Linked DNA regions of Homo sapiens: region 2 is linked to region 1. Evidence: promoter capture Hi-C in 16 types of primary human blood cells and fetal thymus (Javierre and others, 2016). All regions are on one chromosome and are shown on one strand. The core of a region is centred on a gene start or on the middle of the fragment in contact, and the rest is flanking DNA. Distances in the headings are between cores, read along the strand shown.

Region 1 (6,100 bases), core at 655-3,154:
ATGCCCATCCTGGTGTCAGAATTTTTTTAAAGCCTCTTATTATTTTACTGCATAGCCAGGGTTGAGAACTGCTATCCTAAGTAGAGTCTAGTTATGTTTTAGACTTAAGTTAAATATCACTTCCTCAGGGATCCCTTTCCTGATCAGCCCTAGCCTAGGTCAAGTCCCCTTGTTATATATCCTCCAAGCAAGCACCCAGTACTTATCCTGTTTGGCGCTTAACAATTGGTCCATTATTTGTTTCAAGTCTGCCTTTCCTTGTTGACTACCTGCTGTGTGAGGGGAGACACATTTCTGCCCTTTTCACTAAATTGTTGAAGTCAGTCGTGTTCAAATTGTTGAACCTGCCTTGTTAAAATTGTTGAAGTCTAGTTCAACAATGCACTAAGTAGTACACAGTTCGTGCTCAGTAAAAACATCTTGAATGAATGATCTCCTTTACTCAGCCAGGAGTGTGTGACCAAGGCTCTCATTCATGAATCTGCTAAGAGACCTTTTGCAGGTGAGACCTTAAAGTACACCACATACATACTTACAGGACTATGGCTTTAGATCAGCTCATAGTTCCCACAGTTTTTCTGTTTCATCTTCATGTATCACAGCAGTTCAGCATGTCCATCATCACCATTACAACCCTGTGTGGTGGACACTACAAGTCCCATCTTGTATTTGGAAAGAAGTTGAATAACTTGCCCAGGTCTCTCTACCCTACTGTCTGGGCCCCTTTACAAACGGTTACAAATAAGGAAAATCCCTTTCAACAAGATACATTCCCAGGGTACCTGTTTGTGCTGAGCTTTTATTATTGGCTTGACAGCAGGCTGGTGGCTGCTTGCAGGGGATCTTCTGGGGGTCTCCAGTTACAGCAGCCAGGACCCAGTGTGCGACTTCAGGCCTTCCTAAACTGTTACAGGGTGCAGGCATCATTGGGCATTATCCATATAAGGATGCCACAAATACTATACCTTTCAAAGCCACTAAATTCACTGTGCCGCGCATATCCTGGGGAGAGGCAGCTGTGTGTGGGGGAGGGCGAGGGGACCGGGAGGGTGTAAGTAGAGTCCTCCAGATGAACCCCAGTCTTAATCTGGGCTGGGCAAGAGGACCATCCCTTCACCGCTCCCATCCTACATCCTAGGTTCCAACATTTACAGGCCCCTGGGTTGGACACCGACTTAGAGAGAGCACCCTGGATTCAGGCCTGGGTGGCTTGAATTGAGCCTCAGAAGAGCCGCGTCTGGAGTGGGCTCTCGACACCCAGGGCAAGTGGGGGCGGCAGAGCCCTCTCCTCGGTCGGCACAGCAGCCTCTGCCGCGGTCCCGGCCTGCGACGCGCCCAGTCTTAGCCTCCCGGCCTCCGGCGTCTGCTGAGTGTCCGGCGGGAGAGGCGCAGGGAGCGCGCTACCGGGAGGCGCGGGCAGCGGGGACTGGTTTTCTCTCGGGCCAGGGCCTCCGGGGCAACCGTCTCCAGCGCGCATTCTTGGTGCAGGTGGAACAGCTTTCTGCTCCGGTAGGGCTTCACCTATCGCGGGAGAGGTTAATCTCGGATCTAAACCTCGCAGCCGCAGAGCGGGCTAAAACCGCTACTCCACCTCTTCCCATTTCTCCCCTCCCCACCTCAAGACAAAAAGTCCCAGGCCGGGCAGGACCTGATCACCTCTGCCTCCTCCCACTGCGCTAATCCTGCGAGCGAGAGGCCCCGCACCGAGGCGGAGGCTGGCAAAGGGGAGTGGAAAGGGAGGATGGATGGGGCCGGGGGGTGGGGTGGTGATGAGGGCGACGAAGGAGGGGGTGTCATTTTCTTTTTCTTTCTTTTTTTAAAAAAAGTATTTCTCTCGCGAGAAACCGCTGCGCGGACGATACTTGAAGAGGTGGGGAAAGGAGGGGGCTGCGGGAGCCGCGGCAGAGACTGTGGGTGCCACAAGCGGACAGGAGCCACAGCTGGGACAGCTGCGAGCGGAGCCGAGCAGTGGCTGTAGCGGCCACGACTGGGAGCAGCCGCCGCCGCCTCCTCGGGAGTCGGAGCCGCCGCTTCTCCAGTGGGTGCAGCCGGGGTCCCGACGGGGGTCGGGCGGCCACCGGGGCTGGAGCTGCGGCCACGGAGGCTTTTGCGTTTGCGCCGCGCCGAGGGCAGGGACAGGGACTGGGGTGAGGGGCTGTCCCGGAACGTCCACAGCTGGCGCTGGCCCTCCCCTGCCTGACAGCTTCCTGGCCCGGGGCTCTTGGTGCCGGGCTCCGCGTCAGATGTTCGGGGGGCGGTGGCATCGCCCGGAGTCGGCGGGGACGGCGCGGCTGGCTTCCAGCCTGGCGGAGAGGGCAGGCTGAGGAGTGGGGCGTTCAGAGCGCGCATCGCGCGCAATTCGTGCCGCTAAAAAAAATAAACCCAGAGAGCTCGCCCGGGGCTTAGGACCGCTGGGGATATGGGTACTTTGCGCCGCGCTCTTCTGGCGGGGCCCGGGAGGCCGAGGGATCGGCCGGGGCTGCTGCCGCCGGGGGCCTGGGCTTTCCAGCCAGCTGTGGACCAAACGGTCTTCCCTTACCCAAATTAACTGCGCCACGCGCAGGCGGCGCACGGGTTGGGCTTGGGAATGGGGACCGCGAGGCTTCAGCATCCCGATGCCCTGAAAGTCTCCCCGCCTCGGGGATTTGTCTCTGTGTTGCAGCTGGCAGGGGCCGCCTGAAGTGGGAGCAGCGCCTGGAGAAGGCGGGAGGAGCCCGGCCCGGGGGACGGGCGGCGGGATAGCGGGACCCCGGCGGCGCGGTGCGCTTCAGGGCGCAGCGGCGGCCGCAGACCGAGCCCCGGGCGCGGCAAGAGGCGGCGGGAGCCGGTGGCGGCTCGGCATCATGCGTCGAGGGCGTCTGCTGGAGATCGCCCTGGGATTTACCGTGCTTTTAGCGTCCTACACGAGCCATGGGGCGGACGCCAATTTGGAGGCTGGGAACGTGAAGGAAACCAGAGCCAGTCGGGCCAAGAGAAGAGGCGGTGGAGGACACGACGCGCTTAAAGGGTAAAGGAACCGGTTCCCTCCTTTGGTGTGGGTCTCCCAAGTTTCAAGATCCAGAACAACGGGCAGGATGACTCTCCCTGTGGAAGACTCCTTGGCAAGACCTCCTGGGGGCACCTTAGAGGTGCTAGGGTTGTTTAGTCCCCACCCCGTTCGTGGTTAAACTACCTTGCCCCTACTCCCAGAGATTTCTGCCCCAAAGGAGAGGACGTGGTTAAATGGAATCTTGGGCCATTGTTGAGGCAGATTTTGGGAGGCGAGAAGAGTTCCTTGGGGAAGAAGGGGAGGAGTTGCGAGTGGGATAAGAGGAGAAGCCCGTTCCTTTCCCTGCAATATCAATTCTGGTTGTTTCTAGAGGAAAGTACTTTCCTTGGGGTCATCTTGGTAGATGCTGTATTTGAAAGGGGGCAAGGAAAGGAAGGGATTCCCATGACAGTCAGAGGAGAAATCACACAGTAGTTGACTCTTCCGTAAATTATGCTTATTAAAATTACGGATTGGGTTTTCTGGGCAATGCTTCCTTTAGATGTCTACATTGGAAGCAGAACAGGGCAAGTGGTTCTGAGAACTGGTTTTTTGAGTTGTGTGGGGCTCTCCGTTTCACTGCAGCAGTAAGGCTGCTGTGGCCGGCCTTAAGGGAGTATTTTTAACTAGTGGTGTTTGTGTTGTGTACATGCAACTGACCATTTCACTGGCTTCCCATGCCGCTGTTACAGATGTTTCAGCCGGAAAAATTTTAATTAGACTTGACTAAGGGTTGTCATTTTCCTGTATTGAAGGACAGTGGGAATACATTTCCTTTAAGAGAAATTTGTCTGCAGTTGTTTAAGTTAAAGCCTCCATGGAAACAACAGGATGGACTGTCAGTGACCCCTTTTATCTTCTTGGAGGAGCCTGTTAAATAAATTCAGACAGTATATATAGGGAGATTTTGTATTAAATTCTTACCATTCTCGCTGATGCTCTTTTCCTGAGTGGTTCTGTAGCTTTATTATATAGCTCTGGGTCACCAAGTGATGGTATCCACTTGGATATGTGGCTGTTCATTTCACTTACTCTTTTTTTGTTATGAGGTGTTATAGTCATGTATATGTAGTAAAATTTGTGTTTGTATGGCCCAGATATGAGAAGAAAAAGTAAACTCACCAGACCAGTTTTTGACTCCTAGTCTGGAGTAAGGACAAGATGATTGTATGAGCCAAGCACTTAGGCTGTGATAAAATAGCACAGAAAATAGTTATGATTAATTCGGTTCCATCTTGGCCTTCGTGGAAAATAAACCCAGAATTCCGATAATGTTGGAAGGAAGTTTGCTTATCATGGTAAACCTGACCTTGATCAGACAGCAGATGTTTATTGCCCTGTGTGCAAGGCACATGGCAAGTTCAATAAGTAGACTGAGGCTCTGATTTTCATATGTTCTCAAGAGGACCTCATTTAGTCCAGTATTTTTCCTTCAAAAATACATTTCTCCTACATAATAATATCTTAATATCTATTCTGATAGGATTGCTCCTGTATATAAAGGACGTGGGGATTTAATTCTGTGGCTGAAGATCTGCAGAGAGGTGTGAGGCCTGGTCAGACATTTGTCTCATTTCTCTGGGCTGTCACCAACTAGTGTGTTCCCTTGGGAATGTGAAAAAAGAAACTAAGCTTTACTTTGTTGCTTAACAGGATGCCACACTTTTACTCACACTTGTGCTTTTTCTCTCTGGTTTTAAATTTGTTTGTGATTATAGAGAGATACCTCTCTGTGCTCCTCACAGTATTTGATCATTAACACAGACCTTATCCTATTGTAAACTATTTATAAAGCCTTCCTAAAAACAGGGTATTAATAGAATTGTAATTATGTGTGTTCCTAATTCTCATGTTAATTATAAGATTTTATAATAAGTGATATATATATATACACACACACACACACACACACATACACGGGGGTGAAAATAATAATTTAAAAATATATACAATTAAAAGTATTTCCCTGCCACCTTTCAGAGACCATTTTCTTGTGTATTTTTCTATAAATCTTTTAGGCATATGTATACATGTACAAATAAACACAAATATATATGTATACATACACATGTGTGTGTGTATCCTTTTTAATACATGGAATGTATTGTACATGCAATATTCTGAACTTTACTTACTTTTTATGTATCTTTAATGCATCCATCTATTAACTCATATGGATCTACCTCATTCATTTTCTTTCTTTTTTTTTGAGACACAGTCTTGCTCTGTTGCCCAGGCTGGAGTGTAGTGGTGCAATCTTGGCTTACTGCCTCCACCTTCCCGGCTCAAGCGATTCTCCTGCCTCAGCCTCCAGAGTAGCTGGGATTACAGGTGGGTGCCACCAAGCCCGGCTAATTTTTTGTATTTTTAGTAGAGATGGGGTTTCGCCATGTTGGCCAGGATGGTCTCAAACTCTTGGCCTCAAGCGATCCACCCACCTCTGCCTCTCCAAATTACAGGCTTGAGCCACTGCGCCCTACCCCATTTTCTTGTTGTATAGAACCTCATTATGTCACTGGAACAGTTCCCTAGTGATGGCTCTTTAGATTACATTGAGTCTTTTGCTATTACCAACTTTCTTCTGCATACCTGTGTTTACATACACGTGTTTATATGTGGTATAAATTAGTAAAAATAGAATTGCTGGATCAAAGTCTTTCCCATAGATTTTAAGCAAACCCCAATTCTTATGTTAAATTTGAATAACATTTTAAATTTATTCCCTCTGCTTATTGCCGTTACAGTCTCATATGAATAAATCCTTTAACGGTGCCCTGCTGTATAAATCATCAGAAAAAGCAGTTATGTACTACATTTTTCCAGTTATTGCTTAAAATTTCTGTTTTTGTCTGTTAAAATATTACCGGCTTCAAAACTCACCTCTTTGACTACAGTGAAACCTGTTTACCATTCTGATTGGAGATGCACAGTTTATGAAGTGAAAGTGATTTGTAACCCCCGAGTCTGCCTGATGCCCAGTTGGTGGCAGCAACTTTCAGCACCTCACTAATCTTTCCTCTAGTTAAAAGGTACCTTAAACTCATCAGTATCTGCTGTGCACTGGTTCCTTCT
Region 2 (6,578 bases), core at 3,764-6,263, 310 kb after region 1:
TTTTAAGAACAAGGGTAATTCCTAAGCATATCCTTTCAATTTTCTCATATAATGGGGGGAAAAAAGCAAACCCTTAGGTCCACCACGGGGAAAAATATTCAGCAAAAACAACATTTTAGATTTTCCGAATGGATTACAACATACGTTTAAATGAACCCCTGTGCTTTATGAATGAATTACTAGGGACAAGTGAATCTGAATTTAAGCACTTCTTAAAAGGTTCCTGATGCAACACTTTTACGAGAAGAGTGAGTATAAAACTGGGCAGAAAAGCAGCAAAGGCAGTTCATCTCCTGTCGGGCCTGAAGGAAACAATCCATTATTGAACTTGACCAATTCCAATACCAAACCCTGCTTTATTTCTCCACCGTCAGTTGACCATTAATTTACACCTTAATATTTATGAAAAAATTTGATATAAAGATGAAACCAGCTGTTTTCCATATTATCTATATGGAAAAAATTTTGACTGCAGGGACAATTTAAATTAGATTTAATGAAGAAATCCCTCAACATAGCATGTTGTTCCATGCTAGAAAAAATGGCCACAGTAGGCTAGAGAACTTCCATGCTGGGAGATTTTGAGGTACAAGCTAATAATTCATCTATCTTGAATGAGTTAGAGAAAGACATGGACTGACTTCTGAACTATTGTTTCTACTTTATTCAAAAATTTTTAAATAACTAAAACAATACAAATACATATAAAGTAAAAGCTTATAATATTCTCTTACCCTCCCTGAGATAGCTAATGTTACAGAAATATATCTTACATACTACTTTATTTTTTTCTTTTTATCCTTTGAGATTAATATATGTAAATGTTAGCCATTCTTTTTAGATACAAGATATGGAAATATGGGTTCTCTCTCTCCTTCTCTTTCTTTTTTTGGCAGGGTCTCACTCTTATAGCCCAGGCAGGAGTATAGTGGTATGATCACAACTCACTATAGCCTCAACCTCAAGTGATTCTCCCACCTCAGCCTCCAGGTACAAAGGCACCACCACACCTGGCTAATTTTTGTATTTCTTGTAGAGAGAAAGTATCCCTATGTTGCTCAAATAAGCCTCAAACTCCTGGGCTCAAGCAATCTGCCTGTCTCAGCCTCCCAAAGTGCTGGGATTACAGGCATGAGCCACAACGCCCAACCTGTACCATTGTTTCTATGTAACTATTCTCTTGCATAATATCAGACACAGGCTGCTTTTACATTTTGCTATAATAAATGAAGCAGCCCTTTAAGTATATCCTTGTATATGAATGCTTTTTATTTTCATCAAATAGGTTGCAAAAAAGGTGTAGCCACTCAAACTTCCATCAGCAATATTTGAGAATGCCCATTTCCAAAATCCTTGCCAATATTTGATGGCAACAATCTCTTACATTCTGGCCAATATGATGAGTACAAAATGGCTATCTCATTGCCTTACTTTTCATTCCCTGATGACTAGTGAGGCTGGATTTTTTTCCTCCCATTTGTTGGACATTTGCATGTCCTTGTCTATATTTTGTGTATGTTTTTTTCTCATTTGTTCTTTTTCATATAAGTTGCAAATATTTGCTTGTTGGCTTTATAGTATCTTCTAACATACAAAAACACTCCCTTTTTGAAAGGCCTCTGCTAACGTATCTGTAAAGCAGTCCTATCAGAACTACTCAAATGATTGGGTGTCTTGAATCCTGCAGATAGGTGATCTTTATGCTTGGGCCACGAAAATGTGAAAAACCTTTAAGTGACTAAAAGAAATTAAGAAGTTTGAAGTCAATTCAAATGTATGGCAGAAAAAAAGGCCCTCAATAGTTTTTTTTTTTGCATGAATGTTGACGGTATAAAAATTTCAGTAGTTCCAAATTCATTTACCACCCAATTGCCATTCGACCTCCAAGAAAAGCCTTCTCTGCCTACAGGATATAAGTATCAGGGATATTTCTCCTCAGAGAAAGCAGAAAGTAACTTGAAGTTATCACTGGAAAAATCATGCATTGGAACTGGCAGAGTGATTAACTGACTTCAGGCAAAAGTTTTACTGTGTCAAGAGTTTGGCATGTCATTTGTTGGAAACCTTTTTTAGTGAAAAACTATCCACACCTACCAGATGTGAATTCTGAACAGAATCCTGAATGCTCAACTTTTCCCTTTGACCCTTATTTAGAGCCTGGGATTTCTAACAACATCTCTCTTCAGAAATAAAAACTGTTGCCAACTATGATAAACTTGTGCCTAAGGGAGATTGTTAAGATTCTCTGCATCCAAGAACACACCACAATGTGATTTTATGAATAACACCATACCAACCACTAGGCAAACTAACTTTCCATTCTTTTACATGAATTTTTTTCCAGAAAGTTGTTTTAAACAGAGCAAAAATTAGTAACAAAGTCGAATAAAAGAAAAAGTTTCCACATAAAAACAATCTGTGAAGTCCCTAAGGACAGAAATTATATCTCACAGAATCTAATATGTGCCAAGTACTATATTAGGTATTTCATACACATTATCATTTAATCCTCCTACCTCTAGAGGCAGGCACACTAATTTCCATTGTAAAATGAGGAAACAGGCTCAGAAAGGTTAAGTAATAACTAGTTAATGACAGAGCTGGGACCTACATCCAGTTGTTATTCCAAAGCTCCCGTTCCTTGAACAATCATTTGAAACTTCATTGAAAATATATACAATTATTTATATCCTTAAGTTACTGTCCCAAAATGACCACAGTTGACCTTGTAAAAGCATTTTTGAACATCGGGCATAACTTACAGAGCCCAAGGAATCCTCAACCCAAGAGTGGGCTGTCAATGTCCACCCTGCTATGTAAAACTCAGCTCCCCTTTAGTCCCTAAAGGGTGTACTTTTGGGGTCCTGTCTTGTCCCACAGCACCACCTGGTGACACTATGGAGAGACACCACACCCACCAAATGTTAGACTAAGGGGCAGGTCTAGGATAGCCAGGTTTCATTAAGTGCTTAGTTAGCCCTTGCAGTGGCACATAAAAGTGAGCTAATTCTGGACGTGTTTAGTTGGTGAGGGGGATGCAGCAGGGTAATCTCCACAATTAATTGCAGTGGAAAGAACAAGGAGGCTGGAATCACACAGAGACTCCAGTTTTTACCACATATCCATGTGGGCTCATTTCTAAGCCAGTTTTCCTGATCTGTTAACAAGCCTCCATAAAGCAGCTCTGTAAAAACGGGTGGAGGAGGAGATCTAGCACACCTACTTATGTGGGGGCCAAGGTATCTTGTTAAGTGAAAGATTCACTACTGATGGGATAAAGGGTCAGTATGTAAGGACCACATAAGTGGGGTCTGAATCCCAGTTGGAGCGGACCTGAAACAAGGAAACCACATCAGGAAAGTAGAAATTTCCTTACAATAAGAGGAGTAGCTCTGTATCAAGAGTAGTTAGCAGAGGACACTGAGGGTTCTTCATGAAAGGTACCACATGAGGTAGGGTTAACTTTGAGACAAACATGAGAAAGGCTTTATTATAAGGGAAACAGGTAACACAGAGGACTGTCTTAACAAATTTAGAGAAAAGTGTTTTCTCTCCTGACTTCAGGGAAAGATTTTCTTCTTAAATTTTGCTAAAGACAGATAGCTCTCTTATGAAGAAAATTCTTACAAGATAGACCTGTGTTTTCTAGAACTTTTGTTGCTTAAATAATTACTTAATTATTATATCATTAAATCTGTCATTATTAATTAGGTAATCATTATTTTAAAAATTAAGTTAGTAGTTAAACAAAATATAATTACTTAAAATAACCACAAAGCTTTTCCTCCTATTATAACAAGCTTTCCTCTAATCATTTTCTTTTCTTAAAAATAAAATCTGTCATTTGAATATTACCTTTTAAAGACAAAGTAAATACTTGCAAACATTTACAGAATAAAAAAGGAAATATATTACCTCCTACATCAATAAAGTGTTTTGCAGCCAAGCCTGACCGTGGAGCTAAAAAACAAAAAAGGAGACATTGGTTATTTTAAGGGGGAAGGGCTATATCAGAGATAACTGATGCAATTTAAGCATGTCATTCTCTTCACCTATAATATCTATATCTTCATCTTAACTTTAGCACATGGTTTTGAATTAAAGAATATATATTCATCATACTGCATTACCAAAGTTGGAAAGACTAGTTTAGAAAAATTCCACAAGGTTTTAATTCAAAACTAACTTAAACCACTCCCATGTGACTTCAGTCAGAATTTGTGGTGCTGCAGACAGGGGAGAAGGACTGCTAGAATGAGCTGAAAGGTGAGCAAGCGGGAACAACTGTAGGCTGCTCTTTCAAGAAGTTAAGCCTCAAAGGGGAAGAAAGAGAAGTATGGCCAGCAGGAACACACTACTGAGGAAGAAGACTTTGGTTTTAAGATGGGACACCACAACATGTACAATGCAGATGGGAAGGGAAAGGAAGAGGAAGGGAGAGGGAAACAAACCTAACCAAATAGTAGCAGACCATAGCCTACAACTTGGGACCCCACTATTCATGATTCAGATGCCAAAAGACATGCCTGTAGGAAACACATGAACCAGAGTAAGATAAATGGGCTAATATCAGTTAAGTAAAAATGCCAAAAACTAAGTCTCAATGATTCAATGCTAGTATACTTTTTAATCCTAAAAAATGAAAAAAATAAAAAGCTAAGGTTACACCTTATTATTGCAGACTCAAGCATCAGGCCTATAATTAATTATCCTAACTTCCAGCATTTTATTTTAGAATAATTTAAATCAGGCACTTTGTCAATAATGCTGCCTCTTTCTGTACTAACCTTTATTTCACTCCATCTCCTGCCCCTTCCCCTGAAAAAATTCTAAAAAATGGAGTCAATGATGCTCAAGAGATGAGATGAGAGCCCATCTTGTTATCTTTTAAGGGCTGAAGTACTGGCAGTTTCCTCACTCATGGCTAATAATATAGTGCCAGTCTAGCTCCTTTCCCTGGAGGAGGGCGTCACAGCTCCATTGCCTCCTTTATGTTTACTCTGAAGTTAGTCAAAAAGAACTTACGCTCTTGCAAAGAACTGTCTGGTAACAACTGATCCGCTCCAGAAAAATCAAACCTGTTGACGTGTACTCCATTTTGTCCTAGCTCCTCCCAGTGCCTCTACAACACTGAAGAGTATCCCTTACCCTAACCCCATGGCCAAACAAGAAAAGGTTAAGTAGGCTTACACATTCTGGGACCAACAGGTCAGAAGTTTTACTCTCATAATATAAAATGCCATGTTCTGAGAACAGCCTTCTAGGCCAGTGTGAGCCTAAAAGCTCCAGTGAGGAAGGAGAAAAATAAAAGGGTCAAAAAGAGGCAAAGCAGAGATGTAAATAAAGCCTTTCAAAGAGTGCATTTGCTATCACAAATGGTGCTTCTTTTAGGACACAGCCCAAGCAATATTGCCTGCTTATTACCCCAAATGAAACATGAAGAATCTATCACAAAGGAGAACTTGACAAATAGTTACCTGTTTCTTAAATGACTTACCCACTCTTCCATAACACCCAGAAGGGAGCGCTATCTGAATGTCCGTTTTCACAACAGCTTTCTCCATAGGTGGTATTGTGTAATCATAGGCACTAAGAAAATATTGAAAGAAAATAACTGCAAATCTATTTATAAAATTGTTTTTATATTTTCTTTGTGACCAAGCATACAAAATTACTTTCAGTGTATTTAATGAATTAATGCAACTTTAGTTTCTAAAATCAACCTTGCTATGATGAATTACCAATTCATCTTAAAAGTTTATGAAGAAGGTAGAGGTGGCTATTTTATTATTAAAAAGACAGCTTTAGATAAAATAATTCTCCATGAATATTTTTGGTGGTGTGAAGAGATGTCAACATTGTAAATGTTTGCCCCTGAACAAAAGTTTATTGGAAACTGAGGTACTTATCAGCGTGAAAGGGCAGAAAGGCAAACTTTCAAAAGGTGGATGCTTTACAACCATAGTTTGAAAAGGAAAAAAATGAAGAAAGAACAAAGAAAAAAGGCCAAATACTACTAATAATACTAGCTATCATTGATTAAGCCTTTACTGTGTGCCAGGAACAGTTCTAATTGGTTTACATATATTAACCCATTTTATTCTCACAATGATCTGTGTGATTAGGGAAAATATGCAGAAGGAAAGGAGAAAAACGGGTGGACAAAATAAGAGATAAAGAACTGTGTTGTATCTGTCAGGCAGGGCTTGGTAGTTTACCAAGCTTAGGCTATGAATTTCCTGGCTGAGGGAGACAGCTGATCACCGTGAACGGCCCCTGGAGATGGACCTTGCTTAGGAACAGAATTCCTCTAAAGTCCACATAGCAAATGCTGCTACTCTTGATATTACTGTGGCCCTCTCCTGGGTAGAAATTTAAGAGATTTTACAATGAGCAGAACCGGAAGTTTACTTTGGAGACCTTAATTAACTCTGGTAAAGCAGTACTACCCCTTCTTTCACTGAAATCCCTCTTTAAACAGTTAAGCCCTAATTTATTGCTGATCCATTATTTCCATGTCAATTTCAGTATACAGAAAGTCACCTGTGTTTATTAGGAGTCTACTTAAGGTATCTTAA

The links. Contacts are between HindIII fragments. The CHiCAGO score rates a contact against its expected background, and 5 or more counts as called.
Region 2: a contact is called between a fragment that was not itself captured here and the fragment with the promoter of FBN1 in region 1, in 3 of 17 cell types (erythroblasts, megakaryocytes and endothelial precursors). The highest score is 8.9, in erythroblasts.

Annotation. Positions count from the first base shown.
Region 1 is chr15:48,641,513-48,647,612 of GRCh38, reverse strand. It overlaps FBN1 (fibrillin 1), which reads left to right and starts at 1,904. Exons shown (of 66, transcript NM_000138.5): 1 at 1,904-2,038; 2 at 2,663-3,007. The coding sequence starts at 2,844. FBN1-DT (FBN1 divergent transcript) reads right to left here and starts at 1,808. Exons shown (of 2, transcript NR_183872.1): 1 at 783-1,808. RefSeq lists enhancers at 1,740-1,829, 1,342-1,866 and silencers at 1,940-2,019, 2,060-2,239, 2,650-2,779, 2,880-2,929. The HindIII fragment of the contact is 7,208 bases long and covers 1-4,662 here.
Region 2 is chr15:48,333,428-48,340,005 of GRCh38, reverse strand. DUT (deoxyuridine triphosphatase) reads right to left here. Exons shown (of 7, transcript NM_001025248.2): 3 at 5,498-5,589; 4 at 3,916-3,960. Among named protein-coding and RNA genes, the nearest start is that of DUT-AS1, 4.9 kb to the right of the region's middle. RefSeq lists a silencer at 2,920-2,989. The HindIII fragment of the contact is 2,422 bases long and covers 3,803-6,224 here.